Linked DNA regions of Homo sapiens: all the other regions are linked to region 1. The links are contacts of gene promoters, found by promoter capture Hi-C in blood cells and fetal thymus (Javierre and others, 2016). All regions are on one chromosome and are shown on one strand. Each heading gives the region's core, a stretch centred on a gene start or on the middle of the fragment in contact. The rest is flanking DNA. Distances are from core to core; before and after follow the strand shown. Region 1 holds the start of RALGAPA1 (Ral GTPase activating protein catalytic subunit alpha 1). Region 2 holds the start of SNX6 (sorting nexin 6). Region 3 holds the start of EAPP (E2F associated phosphoprotein). Region 4 overlaps SPTSSA (serine palmitoyltransferase small subunit A). Region 5 holds the start of CFL2 (cofilin 2).

Evidence for each region. Contacts are between HindIII fragments. The CHiCAGO score rates a contact against its expected background, and 5 or more counts as called.
Region 2: a contact is called between the fragment with the promoter of SNX6 here and the fragment with the promoter of RALGAPA1 in region 1, in 9 of 17 cell types (naive B cells, naive CD8 T cells, total CD8 T cells and 6 more). The highest score is 16.9, in naive B cells.
Region 3: a fragment that was not itself captured here is called in contact with the fragment with the promoter of RALGAPA1 in region 1 in 8 of 17 cell types (naive CD4 T cells, fetal thymus, total B cells and 5 more); the score reaches 13.7 in naive CD4 T cells.
Region 4: a fragment that was not itself captured here is called in contact with the fragment with the promoter of RALGAPA1 in region 1 in 1 of 17 cell types (total B cells); the score reaches 5.3 in total B cells.
Region 5: a contact is called between the fragment with the promoter of CFL2 here and the fragment with the promoter of RALGAPA1 in region 1, in 6 of 17 cell types (total B cells, total CD8 T cells, fetal thymus and 3 more). The highest score is 9.8, in total B cells.

Annotation. Positions count from the first base shown.
Region 1 is chr14:35,807,896-35,810,595 of GRCh38, forward strand. It overlaps RALGAPA1 (Ral GTPase activating protein catalytic subunit alpha 1), which reads right to left and starts at 1,400. Exons shown (of 42, transcript NM_001346249.2): 1 at 835-1,400. The coding sequence starts at 940. RefSeq lists enhancers at 1,050-1,610, 1,447-1,546 and a silencer at 1,127-1,366. The HindIII fragment of the contact is 1,366 bases long and covers 1,351-2,700 here.
Region 2 is chr14:34,628,854-34,631,553 of GRCh38, forward strand. SNX6 (sorting nexin 6) reads right to left here and starts at 1,295. Exons shown (of 14, transcript NM_152233.4): 1 at 1,258-1,295; 2 at 1,054-1,101. The coding sequence starts at 1,263. RefSeq lists a silencer at 1,049-1,398 and an enhancer at 1,569-1,618. The HindIII fragment of the contact is 3,459 bases long and covers 1-1,741 here.
Region 3 is chr14:34,537,152-34,539,851 of GRCh38, forward strand. EAPP (E2F associated phosphoprotein) reads right to left here and starts at 2,550. Exons shown (of 6, transcript NM_018453.4): 1 at 2,404-2,550. The coding sequence starts at 2,477. LOC105370447 (a long non-coding RNA gene) reads left to right here and starts at 2,598. Exons shown (of 2, transcript XR_943739.1): 1 at 2,598-2,633. RefSeq lists silencers at 392-686, 2,628-2,700 and enhancers at 1,753-2,677, 2,328-2,487. The HindIII fragment of the contact is 679 bases long and covers 919-1,597 here.
Region 4 is chr14:34,454,772-34,457,572 of GRCh38, forward strand. The region is part of intron 1 of SPTSSA (serine palmitoyltransferase small subunit A); the gene reads right to left. Among named protein-coding and RNA genes, the nearest start is that of SPTSSA, 6.1 kb to the right of the region's middle. The HindIII fragment of the contact is 7,519 bases long and covers 1-2,801 here.
Region 5 is chr14:34,713,256-34,715,955 of GRCh38, forward strand. It overlaps CFL2 (cofilin 2), which reads right to left and starts at 1,338. Exons shown (of 4, transcript NM_138638.5): 1 at 1,283-1,338; 2 at 1-306. The coding sequence starts at 1,285. RefSeq lists silencers at 1,035-1,094, 1,185-1,774. The HindIII fragment of the contact is 2,283 bases long and covers 825-2,700 here.

The DNA of each region.
Region 1 (2,700 bases), core at 150-2,649:
CTCTAAGTATCAACACAGGCGAAATAATTTTCCTTTTCATCTCAAATGTCTTCATCTAAAAAATCCAACTACTGGACCAGATGTTCCATAAGTATTATTACAGCCTTTATCAGCCTACCAAATGACTAAGTATTCAAAAGAGTCGATTAACATTATATTCAAAACTTAGAGCACTGTTTGGTCTACCAGCAAAACAGAACTTAAGGGCAGACGATAAAAAAAATATTTTTAATTAAAAATAGAATTATATACAATTCTCGAGAAGCAAAGGATGAGTTAAACTACCTATAATAGTTCTCCCTCTAAATGACTAGTGATGAACAAGGTGCATTAACAAAAGGGCGGGGCTCCTTCCCACAGCTTTTTGGGAACCGCCCACTTCCCAAAGAGGTGTAACTGCTACCTCCTTGTCTTCATCTGCCAAGAAACTTGAAAGATTAAGGTTTATATTGTCTGAGAGAGGATTTTATTTTTCTTTTTACTTGGGTGGGGTTGGCAGTAGTCATCTGGCAAACATATCCTATAAACACCATTATCCACAACGCCAGGTCTCCCCACAAAGTCTTAAAGATCTAAGTTTTTAGAGTAATACCAATTTTAAAAAATAAGTTCAGACTATTAACTCAAAATTAGATTACTGTGTTAACAGTAATCAGTGCTGCCAACTGCCAAGTTTTCGCTTCTCCGAATTATTCACCCTCCCGCGTCTCCGCAGAGGCTACGATTTGCCCTCTCCTGCACCGCGCCAGGTCCCGAGAGAGAGTCCGCAGGGGCTCCCAGGAGAGGGAAGGCCGGGCAACCCAGGCCTCGGCGCTGCCACCCCTCGCTCCTCACCGATGACGATGCGCAGGTGCTTGAGGCGAGTCAGTGCGTCCTTCTTGGTGTCTAGCACCTTCTGGGTGGACTTCTTCACGTCCCCGTGCGGCTTCTTGGAGAACATCCTGTCGCTGCCACTGCCACTGCCACTGCCACAGCCGGCTCCCAGCCGGGTCCCGGCGGCAGAAAGTGGAGGGAGTGGACGGGGAGGAGACTAGCCAGAGAGGCTCATTAGCTCCCCAGCCTTGCGGGCCAGGGCAGAGCCGACTCCTTCCCGATCCAGGCCAGGGCCGCCACCTCCACCCGCCTCGCGCCGCGGCTCCAAGGCACCTTCGGCCCCAGCTCCAATATGGCGGATCCCTCTCCCGGCCCTGCACGGAGCGAGGCAGACCCGGGCTGGCCGCCTGCCGCCGCCGCTCGTCTCCAGCGGCCGCCGCTCGCCGCCACAGGCCGGGGCCCCGGACCCAGAGCCACGAAGGTGGAGCTCTCGGCGGCAGGAGCACAACTCTCTCCCTGAGGCCCCCTTAAGGTTGAAGCTTCTTTAGCAGCTTACACCCTGCAGAGGCCGAAACGGAGACGAGTGTGGTAGTGATGGGGTTTCACGACTCTGCCGTCGGTGGCGAACGGTGTCCGTGGCAACCGCCTTCTGACGTCAAGAGTTCTTGACGTCATGCCAGCATGAGATCACCCGTGGCACTCCCCGCCTTGGTTTCCTGTGTAAGCAGCCAAAGGAGAATCTCAAGAAAGGCAAGGAAGGTAGTTACTGCGTGCTCCATTGTAAGCCAAATGATAGTAATAAGCAAAGAGAAGTAATCTTTATTAAATATGTCCATGATTTATCTTTGAAAATGTGCATAAGTTGTTGTGGCCACCAGATCCTCTAGCAGAAAGATAAACGAAGTTACAGTTGGGCAATTTATTCTGTCCTAAATCTATTACTAATAATATTTCCTGCACTATGTATGTGATTTCTTTCATATTTTTTCTATTTGCAATATCCCTGTTTTTTGCTGCAAACAACTTGACAACAGAAAGGCTTAAGCAGAGGTATCTAGGTTTTTTAAATAAAAGTAATCTTGCTTTCCTTTTCTATTGTGCTTTTAAAAATCTTTTCCCCATCTGCACCCCACATAAAGATGAATATATTGTCAGTTTTTCCTCTGCAAAGAAGAATTCAAGGTTCTTATTACATTGATGGAGTCATCTGAAGAATCTGCAATAGCTGAAAAAAATCCGTGAAATTCTGAATGACATAAATTGAAATTTTTATTGGAACCCTTTTTTTTTTTTTCCTTTTTCCTTTTCTTTCCAGACAGGGTCTCTGTGTCCCAGGCAGAAGTGCAGTGGTGTGATCTCAGCTCACTGAAGCCTCGAACTCCCAGGCTCAGGTGATGCTCCCACCTCAGCCTACCGAGTAGCTGGGACCACAGGTGCGCGCCACCACATCCAGCTAATTTTTGTGTTTTTTGTAGAGACGGGGTTTCGCCATTTTGCCCAAACTGGTCTAAAACTCCTAGACTCAAGTGATCCGCCCGCCTCAGCCTACCAAACTGCTGGGATTACAGGCGTGAGGCCACTGCGCCTGGCCAGGAACATTTCCTCCACAAAATAATTTGATAAAGAGTGAGTTTGCTTGTTTGAACTGTTTCCTTCTATGTTCTCACCCATAGCAATAGACTTGTCCAATGAAATATGTGATTAACATAGAAAAATAACAAAATCAGCAAAGAAGAGAGATGTAAGACATTTGCCAAAATTATGTTAAAATATAGTGCTTTGCTTAATGGTAGTTTGTTTCAACAACAATCCTATATTTTTTAAAGTACAAAAAATTTATTCAGTTTCTACATGTAGGGTTTGTTTGTATCATCAAACTTACAAGCC
Region 2 (2,700 bases), core at 45-2,544, 1.2 Mb before region 1:
ATTATCATATATCAACATTTTCCAAGTGCTCACTTGTACAAGGGACTATAAAGATTACCACCCTTCAGCCAAGGAAAAAGGGGGTGGAGAGTGGGGTGGGAGGGAGGAATCAGAGCCCGGAAGGCTCTTTCTGAAGTAGAATGCAACTAACCTCAGAACACCAAGGGCAGAATGGAGGTTATCAAAGGCCTGGCGGAGTGTGTATGTGGGGGGTGAGTGGGTGGAGCGTCGATGTTGGTCAAAGGGTACATACTTGAAATTTGCTTAGATCTCAAATGTTCTCACACAAAAAAAAATGGTAACTAGGTGAGGTGATGGATATGTCAGGTTGATTTTGGTACTCATTTCACAATGTATTCGTGTATTAAAATATAATGTATACCTTAAGTATATACAATTATCAACAGTATTTGTCAATATACCTCAAAGAAGCTAAGGGGGAATAAAACACCAAGGAAATCCTGCCAAAGACAGGATTTGTTGGATATTAGAAAAAGTAAAGATACCATGGGCTACCTGCACTTTGCATAATCTAGTAGGGCACTGGACAGGAGTTGATTCGGCTACTATAAAAATCCTTGCAAAATGGTAATGTAGACTACACCTGTACTATTTGAGAGAGACAGAAGGGTGGGCGGGAGCAAGTTCGAGATGTCCACACCGGGTGAAAATTGAGGGTGCCGCTGGGAAGGTCCGAGAATGGGTTTTCATGGCCCCAAAGTGTCGAGGGAGGGTGGGGGCGTTCCATCTCCCGCCTCCATTTCCACTTCGCCACCTGCACCCCGCCCCGCGTGGGAGTGGAGGTCCACCAGAAGGCCCGAACAGCGGCGGGGGACAAGAAAGCGGCCGCGGGTCCCCGGGAATCGGAGCCGAGCGGCCCCTAGGGAGGAAGGGCTGCGGGAGGGTGGGGCGCGGTGCAGCGAGGAAACCGAAAGGAGGACTACGGGGAGGGAGTGCCGCGCGGCTGGGGACCCATCCCCGTACCACACCCGGGGACCCAGGATGGGGAAGGAGGGTCCAGGGTCCCGCGAGCGAAAGGAAGGCAGAACTTACTCCGCGGTCCTCTTCTGAGAGGAAGTCCGGGCCGTCGTCCAGGCCTTCCTGTGGGGTCGGCGGGCACGGCGCGCCGGGGAAAAGGATGAGATGGGGGAGACACAAAGGGAGACATTAGTGACAGGCTGGCGCGGTCCCCGCGCCCGCCCCGCGCCCGCTGCCCCCACCGCGCTCCCGGGACTCGGCGCCGCGGAGAACACCCACCATCATGGCTGCTCCGAGGCGAGGGCCGGCGCAGGCGCGCATCTCCCTGCTGCCGGAGGGAGCCGGCGGCCAGGAGCGGGGCGGGGCGGGGCGGAGGCGAAGGGGCGGGGCCTAAGGACGGCCCGCCCCGTCCCCGGCGCTGGTCGCTCGAGTCCGTGAGCGAGGAAGGTTAACAGGGCCTTCTGCCCAAGGTCAAGGCACCGAAGTCGGGAGAGCCTGAAGACCCAGACCTCATGGCTGGGGGCACCTCGCAGCTGGCGGGCTCTGACCAGGGAAGGGCCAAAGGCCACCCAGGGAGCTCTCCAGTTCCCCTGCCCCGAGGGCTCCAGCGAAAAACGATGCAGGCGCCCTCCGGAAGCCATAATACATCATCTGGTCTTTGTATTATGCCACACGATAATTAATCACAATTAATATCATTTTGCCTATGGAAGTTGCTGGAAACAAGGACCTTCACACAGTCGGTAATCAGGGACTATAATCAAGCTTTTACCGCTGGCGAGGTAATAACTACCTCAGAGTTTGGGGCACTAATGGTTGCGAACTATAAAAATGAGCTGTTTTCATTACAAAAATATTCCTTTCCTTTGTTAGAAGAAATTTCCCCACACCTACTCTAACTGTCCAGGTGGTTAGCATCACACGGGATCCACAGGCATTTCAAATAACGGGAGAAAATCATACTTAATCCTAGAATCTACACGTTCCTGAGCTTGCATTCAGTTAAGGAAAGGCATCTTCAGATGTTCAGACCAGAAACCCTTAACCCATTGAAATCCGTACTCTAGGGGCCGGGCGCTGTGGCTCACGTCTCTAATTCCAGCACTTTGGGAGGCCAAGGCGGGCGGATCACCTGAGGTCAGGAGTTTGAGACCATCCTGGCTAACATGGTGAAACCCCGTCTCTACTAAAAATACAAAAATTAGCCGGGCGTGGTGGCGCGTGCCTGTAATCTCAGCTACTTGGGAGGCTGAAGCAAAAGAATCGCTTGAACCTGGAAGGCAGAGGTTGCAGTGAGCCGAGATTGCACCACTGCACTCCAGCCTGGGCAACAGAGCAAGACTCTGTCTCAAAAAAAGAAAGAAATAAATCCTTATCTCCCTTACTCCTCATATCCAACCAAATCCTATGGCTTCTACAATTGATTGTCCTTCATACCTCTTTTTTTTTTTTTTTTGAGACAGAGTCTCGCTCTGTCGCCCAGGCTGGAGTGCAGTGGTGCGATCTCGGCTCACTGTAAGCTCCACCTCCAGGGTTCACGCCATTCTCCTGCCTCAGCCTCCCGAGTAGCTGGGACTACAGGTGTGTGCCACCACACCCGGCTAATTTTTTTGTATTTTTAGTAGGACAGGATTTCACCATGTTAGCCAGGAAGGTCTTGATCTCCTGACCTCATGATCCGCCCGCCTCGACCTCCCAAAGTGCTGGGATTACAGGTGTGAG
Region 3 (2,700 bases), core at 8-2,507, 1.3 Mb before region 1:
AGATATGCACCACCATACCAGCTAATTTTTTGTATTTTCAGTAAAGACATGATTTCATCATGTTGCTCAGGCTGGTCTTGAACTCTTGAGCTCAAGTGATTCTCCTGCCTTGGCCTTCCAAAGTGCTGGGATTACAGATGTGAGCCACTGCACCAGACCTGTATTATTTCTTATAACTGAATGTGAATCTACGAAAACTTCAAAATAAAATGTTTAATTTTTAAAAACTGAATCACAAAGTGAGAGCTATTTTTTCTACAAATTTTCTTCAATCCTTGTCATTATCTCAACCAAAGTCTCAGTTTTCAGCACTGCTGAGAAAGGCAGTCATACATCATGGACCCTAGATATGCAAGTTAAGTATGCCAAGAATGCAAGGTTCTGACCACTGTTCACTCCAGCCATTTCTCAGGATTGTGTTTGCAGCGAACAACAACCTTGAGGAATGAGATAATGTCTCCTTCCAGGACAAAGAGCAGATGTATTTACTGTCTTCTATGAAAGAGGTGGATTCTCCAAGCTCAAGTAGTCTTTAGCCACGATGCCAACCCACTGAATGTGCAGCATTCTTCTAGGACCCTCAGCGTAATACCTGTAGGGTTGACAAGCAAGAGCAAGCCACACAAACATGATGCTCATGCTGCTTGCTGTGCTATGTGTAGTCTTATCTTTGACCCAGGAGTCTCATGTCTTCGGTCAGCTACCGTGAAACAGTTAACAGGCTACAATGTATTAGTTTATAAACAGTGTAAAATTAAATACTGACAGACACCTCTCTAACACTAATCTCCCTTTTTAAAATAATAACCATTTGGCTCAGAGCCTACAACAGGCAATACTGTCTGATAACATTGTTTTGTTTTTATAATATTTATCTTTACAGTTACCTTACCAGTGGCAACTGTCACAGAATTATAAAGCTTCCTTAAAAAAATGATACAACAGTCCTGGCTCCGTGGCTCAGGCCTGTAATCCTAGCACTTTGGGAGCCCGACGCAGGCAGATTGCCTAAGGTCAGGAGTTCAAGACCAGCCTGGCCAACGTGGTGAAAACCCATCTCTACGAAAAATACAAAAAATAAGCCAGGTGTGGTAGCGCATGCCTGTAATCCCAGCTACCCAGGAGGCTGAGGCAGGAGAATTGCTGGAACCCAGGAGGTGGAGGCTACAGTGAGCCAAGATTGCACCAGTGCACTCCAGCCTGGCTGACAGAGTGAGACTCTGTCTCAAAATAAATAAATAAATAAATAAATAATTGAGACATACATATATACATACCTCCTTTCACAGACAGGACCCATTAACTGAAACTCTTTTTCACAGGGAATCCTGGTATCTATCCTCACTCCCAACAAAAGAAATCTTAACAGCAGTCTGATTTCCCATGCATCCAATGTCTCCCCATGACAATATGAGGAAACATTGTTCTTTTGATTTTTTTTTTTTTTAAGAAATGAGGTCTCACTATGTTGCCCAGGCTGTTCCTTTACTACCAGGCTTAAGAGATTCTCTCGCCTCAGACTCCCAAAGTCCTGGGATTACAGGCATGGGCCACCACACCCAGCCAAAGTTGTTAATGAAAGCATGGCTTTACAGAAAGCTTCTTTAGGCAGAATGAATGTTTTAAAGTTTAAGAATAGGATCTGCTGACAGCTTAAGAAATAACTAAATTTGTGTGGAAATATCTCGGCAAAACAGCTTCAAGTTTCCCTGGTAGAATAAAGCCCACCCTTCTGGAAATCCCACGAACCTTCTTCTGTGCCTATCTCAGGTCAATATTCTCTACAATGCTCTGCCAAGAAATATATACTTTATCTTATTACCCTTATTATACTATAAGCCTCTGGAAGACAAGGACCTTATGATTTATCTCTGTAGCTCAGAGCGAGCATACAACAGTCCCTGTCAAAAAATAAAAATAAAAAAGGCTGTTCAATATTCCCTTATTTCTGTTTATGGCAGTTTAGTCTTCAAGATGGACACTTCACATTAAGTCCTGTGAGCCTCACAACAAACATAGTGTGTTATACTATGTTATATAGGTTATACAATTATGTTATTATAGTTCAATTTTACAGGTGAGTAATCGAGGATAACTGACTTGCCTTCCGTCACTCTGCTACTAAGGTGTAGAGACAGGTTTCGATCTCATTGCTTTTGAAGATTTACACGCGGTCCCCCGTGATTCCGGAATATCCCTCTTCCTACAGGCGACATCGGCACCGCCTCCCCCCGGGACTGCGCGACCCCATCAGGAAAGCCCTTTGGCTTCGCACAAGTAACAGGCACGACAGGCTCCCGAGCCGCTAGGGTCTGCGTAGGCTCGGCAGGCGCAACGAATGGAGGCGACCAAAGCCAGGCCTCGACCCAAATCCTCGGGGGCCAGGGTGGGGCGGGAGCCCACCTGCTCAAAGCCGGCTCCTCGTCGCTAGGCTCTTCAACCGCGTAGGGGTCGTAGTCATCCGGAAGCCGGTTCATGGTGGCCTGCAGCGGCCTACACCGTCCACAAGCAATTTGCAGCGTCTCTGTTTACACTGCAAGTCCAGTCCCTAAAGCGCCCCTGACGCCACTTCCGCCTGAACGTCCCAGTCCCCCTTGCGCGCCCGCGCAGACCGACAGCACCGAGGGAGGCAGGTAGAAGGCGGGGAAGGGGCGGAGCAGGAGCGAAAAGGGGCGGGGACGGGACGGGGGCGGGTCTTAA
Region 4 (2,801 bases), core at 211-2,710, 1.4 Mb before region 1:
ATTACTTCCTAATCTTACAATTGTTCATTTCCCAGACAGGTGCAGTGGCTCATGCCTGTAATCCCAGAACTTTGGGAGGCCAAGGTGGGTGGGTCACCTGAGGTCAGGAGTTCGAGACCAGGCTGGCCAACATAGTAAATCCCCTTCTCTACTAAAAATACAAAAATCAGCCGGGTGTGGTGGCAGGCACCTGTAATCCCAGCTACTCGTGAGGCTGAGGCAGGAGAATTGCTTGAACCCAGGAGGCGGAGGCTACAGTGACCCAAGATTGCGCCACTGCACTCCAGCCTAGGTAACAGATCAAGACTCCATCTTGAGAAAAAAAAAAAATAGGAGCCGGGCTAGGTGGCTCACACCTGTAATCCCAGCATTTTGGGAGGCCGAGGTGGGCGGATCACGAGGTTGGGAGTTTGAGACCACCCTGGCTAACATGGTGAAACCCCATCTCTACTAAAAATACAAAAAATCAACAGGGTATGGCGGCGGGCACCTGTAATCCCAGCTACTGGGGAGGCTGATGCAAGAGAATCGCTTGCAACCAGAAGGCAAAGGTTGCAAGGAGCCAAGTTCGCACCACTGCACTCTAGCCTGAGGAAAAGAGCGAAACTGTCTCAAAAAAAGAAAAAAAAAAGGAGTATATTTTTTATATATTCACAGAATATCTCAGGAGAGATGCATAGGAAACTGCTGACACTGGTTGTCCCAGGGTGGCCGAGGCAGGGGTGGAAGGAAGACTGTGTCACCAACTACCTTTTTGTATCTTTTGTGTTTTCAACCATAAGGATGTATAATCTATTTTATTTACAACTTAAAATTCATATTTTCCAAACTCCCAAATACTTTAATTAGTATATTGAGATGCAAAAAAAGTCCTTTTAGGCCAGGCGCGGTGGCTCACACCTGTAATCCCAGCACTTTGGGAAGCTGAGGGGAGAGGATCACGTGAGGTCAGGAGTTCAAGAACAGCCTGGCCAACATGGTGAAACCCCGTCTCCACTAAAAATACAAAAATTACCTGGGCATGGTGGCGTGCAACTGTAATCCTAGCTATTCAGGAGGCTGAGGAATGAGGATTGCTTGAACCCAGGAGGCAGAGGTTGCAGTGAGCTGAGATCATGCCAGTGTACTCCAGCCTGGGCAACAGAACAAGACTCCATCTCAAAAAAAAAAAGTCCTTTTTAATTCTAAGTTGTAAGTATCTGAGGATACAGCAAAAATCTAAGAAAATAATTTAGTTGCTACTGAAAATAACATACAGCTTAAAATGTGTGGCTGGGCGCGGTGGCTCACACCTATAATCCCAGCACTTTGGGAGGCGGAGGCAGGCGGATCACGAGGTCAGGAGATCGAGACCATCCGGCTAACATGGTGAAACCCCGTCTCTACTAAAAAAACAAAAAATTAGCCAGGCGTGGTGGTGGGTGCCTGTTATCCCAGCTACTTGGGAGGCTGAGGCAGAAGTATCACTTGAACCCTGGAGGCAGAGATTGCAGTGAGCTGAGATCGCGTCATTGCACTCCAGCCTGGGCAACAAGTGCAAAACCCTATCTCAAAAAAATAATAAATCAATAAAATAAAATAACAAATCAATATATAAACAACTGTTTTTTAAGCATTATTTGTGTGCCCAGCACTGTGGTTTAAAAGTGGGAAAAAAATGTTTTCAAGACACATGAACTGTCTTTCAGGGTGAATCTAATTCCTAACATAAACCAAAAAACTGCCCACATTTTGCTGAAAATAACATGCCATGGAAACATCATCAGCAGCAAAGAGATGGGCAAATATAGCCCAGTGATTATAGACTAATATGACTTTATTTTTTAATGAATAAAACAAGATTAGGCCAGGCGCGGTAGCTCATGCCTGTAATCCCAGCACTTTGGGAGGCTGAGGCAGGCAGATCACCTGAGGACAGAAGTTCAAGACCAGCCTGGCCAACATGGTGAAATCTTGTCTCTACTAAAAAATATAAAAATTAGCCGGGCGTGGTGGCACACACCTGTAGTCCCAGCTACTCGGGAGGGCAAGGCGGAACAATTGCTTGAATCCAGGAGGCAGAGGTTGCAGCGAGCCAAGATCGCGCCACTGCACTCCAGCCTGGGCAACACAGCGAGACTCCATCTCAAAAAAAAAAAGAAAAGAAAAAAGATTAAAATAGCACACTTCTGATTCAAATTATTATTATTATTATTATTATTACTATTATTATTATTATTATTTTGAGACGGAGCATTTGCTCTGTTGCCCAGGCTGGAGTACAATGGCACAATCTTGGCTCACTGCAACCTCCACTTCTTAGGTTCAAGCAATTCTCCTGCCTCAGCCTCCCATGTAGCTGGGACTACAGGCGCCAGCCACCATGCCCCACTAATTTTTTATTTTTAGTAGAGACAAGAATTCACCATGCTGGCCGAGCTGGCCTTGAACTCTTGACCTCAGGTGATCCAGCCACCTCAGCCTCCCAAAGTTGATTCAAATTATTTTAACAATCTATTTTTAATTTTCTCAACTCTCAACAGGAATGGTTACAACGTTATCCAAGTGAGGTACTTCAGGGCGTGTCTCACTGTTACAAAAGCCTATCTTGGTTACAAAACCTGGTCTTTTCTTTCCCACCTTGGGATGCCAGTAGGGAAAGGATACTTTTGAAAGGTATGTTAAAAATGTCTCCTCCTGAGATAAGGTCAGTGGTTCTCAGTCTATGGTAGGTCTCCTTTTGTAGTATATACTGTAATACTAATTGGCACTTATCAGATTCTTCTTTATTGTTACCTTTTGTCTTAATGCAGGTGTCATGT
Region 5 (2,700 bases), core at 88-2,587, 1.1 Mb before region 1:
GAATATAAATACTAGGTCTTCTTTCTTAGACTCTTTTGTTTCGTATGTGGCATCGTACAAAGCATATCGGCAATCATTCAGAGGTAGCAACTTCACAAAAGATGTGTAGGGGTCCTCTACAGTATCACCAATGTCACCCACCAAGATCTGCTTTGCTTCCTCTACAATTATTTGTCTTTTGTCATCGCTTAAACAGAAGAGAACTGCTTTCTTTCTCTTTTTGATCTCCTCTTGTGTAGAAGATTTCCTTACTTTCATATCATTAAAAACTTTGATGACTTCATCATTCACTGTAACTCCAGAAGCCTGAAAATAAACACAGAACAGTAATTCAGAACACGTATTTTGGTTTTAACCAAAATTACTGTTTGCCTAGAGAAGACTCACTTTAGTCTGGACATCAAAAATTGCACCGTACCATGTAAGTCGTCCAATCAGATTTGTCACATTTTAAGAATCAGTAGACGATACAGCGAAGGAGTCTAACTCATCCTGCCCATTCATCCTTCTTAAAGGGGTTTGGACGTGGAAGCGAAAGGGACAAATACAAGTTGTCCCATCCCTGAAATGTTTCCTATTTCACTGGGTGATGTCAGAGCTTCAGGAGTGGCAGCAAAAATACCTTCTGTATTGTGTCAACTCGGCTGGCCTTAAAAAAACACTTTTGGATTTCAGTTAATGCTTCTACTATTTTTTTCTTTAAAGTCATCCTAGCCACTGACGTTTCCTCATAAGGAAAGAGAATCAAGTGTAAACTCCAAACCGCCCACGGCCCACACACAGCTCACATGCAGACACTCCAAAACTAACTGATCGAGTGTAAAAGCTTTTACGGCGAGAAAGCATTTTAAAAAGTGTTTTCCCTCTTCCTTAATCTCCCCGTAAGGGTTTTATTACAGGCCGTCCAGACCCTGACCCACACAGCGTTCGCAGCACGTACCAATTTTAAAGCCTCGCGTGTTAAGTAAAATTAGGAAGCGAAGGGCAAAGGCGGCGCGAGCGGCTGCAGTCCGCAGACCCTCTCGCGCCCCCGCCCGCCCGGCCCCGACCCCCAACCTGCGCCGACGCCCGGGCCCTCCCCGCCCCCCAAAATCCAAAGAGCAGCAGGGCAGGGCCTGACGGCCGGAGGGCAGGCCGGTCGGCTGGAGAGCAGCGGAGCCGCAGAGCAGAAGCGCCCACCTTGGAGGCCAAAATCAGGTTAAAATGGCGGCCTCACTCCCGGGGCCGTGCGGGGGGCTTTTCTCGCCTCGCCGCGGCCTCCCGGCCAGCGCGCTCGTCTTACCATAGTGCCCTCGGCTGTGGCTGCGGCGGCAGCTCGGGCTTCGGCTCTGTGGCACTGGGAGGAGAAGGAGGGGCGGGCGAGCGGGTGGGCAGCGGAGAGTGCGGGGCACGCCGGGAGCTGCAGCCCGAGGGAGGTGGCGGGGCTCGGCGGGCCGCAGGCAGCGGGCGGGGCGGTCACGTGGGCACGCCTGGTCCCCAGCCGGCGCCACCCGCTCCCAGGCCGGCCCTTCTGTCTCGCGGCCCCGGCTCCCCGGCTGTCCGCGTCCTCGGCCTGACCTCAGAGCGCGAGCCCTGCAGGCCGGGGGGGGCGACGCGGTGGTAGCGGAGCCCGGGAGCCTGGCAGAGCCGCCTCCAGCCCCCGAGCATCACCCGTCAAGCCGGTGGGAGAGAGTGCTGGGCTCCCAGAGGGGCGTTTCCACCGCCTCCGTAGGGCCCTGCGCCAGGGGTGGGTGCGTGTGAGGGGAACTCCTGCGAAGGTGTCTTTCCTTATTTACCTGTGGTTTTCCCGAAAGAGGCTGGATTTCGACATTTTGAGTCTTTTTGGAAAACCCCCAGTTGTTTAGAGATAAATGAGAATAAATACTACACGAGATTGCTCCAGTTGATAGTACTTAGCAAAAACAAAATGATACGCAGTGTTGGTAAATCACTTTTCAAAACTCTGGTTGAAATAATAATTATGATTAAAAAATTACGTGGTAGCATTCCTTAGTAATATCCTTTTACATTTTAGACTTCATAGGAAATGGATTGTACTCTCTCTTAGAGATTTCATGAAGCTCCAGCTATGACAGCTGATATCAAATAAGCCGACGCAGCCTCTTCTAGCAAAGCCCATATAACTGCGCCAAGGCAGTTTCTCTTTTTTTAATCTTAACTCCTCCATACCTCAGGGTTCTTCATGTGTAAAACAAACTGTTATTAAATTATCGTTAAGGCCCTTTCCAGCTTTAGATTTCAGTTTCTGAGTATATCAATGTTCAGTAGGAAATGGTGTGTTTTTGGTGGTCTCAGGATTGAGGTTAGGCAGGAAAGTCATGAGATGGTGTTTGCCCTAGATTGCGTGATAAGTTCTTTCAGCCCAAATTTACTGTATTTTAAATGGAACATGCTAGGCATTGAAACAGACCTATTTTTCTGTCTATATCTTGGGTTTGTTTTCTTAATTGGAAGATAGACTTCGTTTAGAGACAAAAATTGAGAAGGGATTTCCCAATGTCTAAGCATGAATCCCAAGCAAGTGGATAATACTTTATATCTAGCTGGTACATTACAATTTATGGAACCTTTCACTTTATCTGTTGAACTTCCAAGAAGTCATGGAGAATGTCTCTCCAGAGCTCTGATCATCTGCTATGTGTAGGTATTAGCAAATTCCTGTTCGCTTCATCTTGCGGTTACCTTCCCTTCCCAACCTCA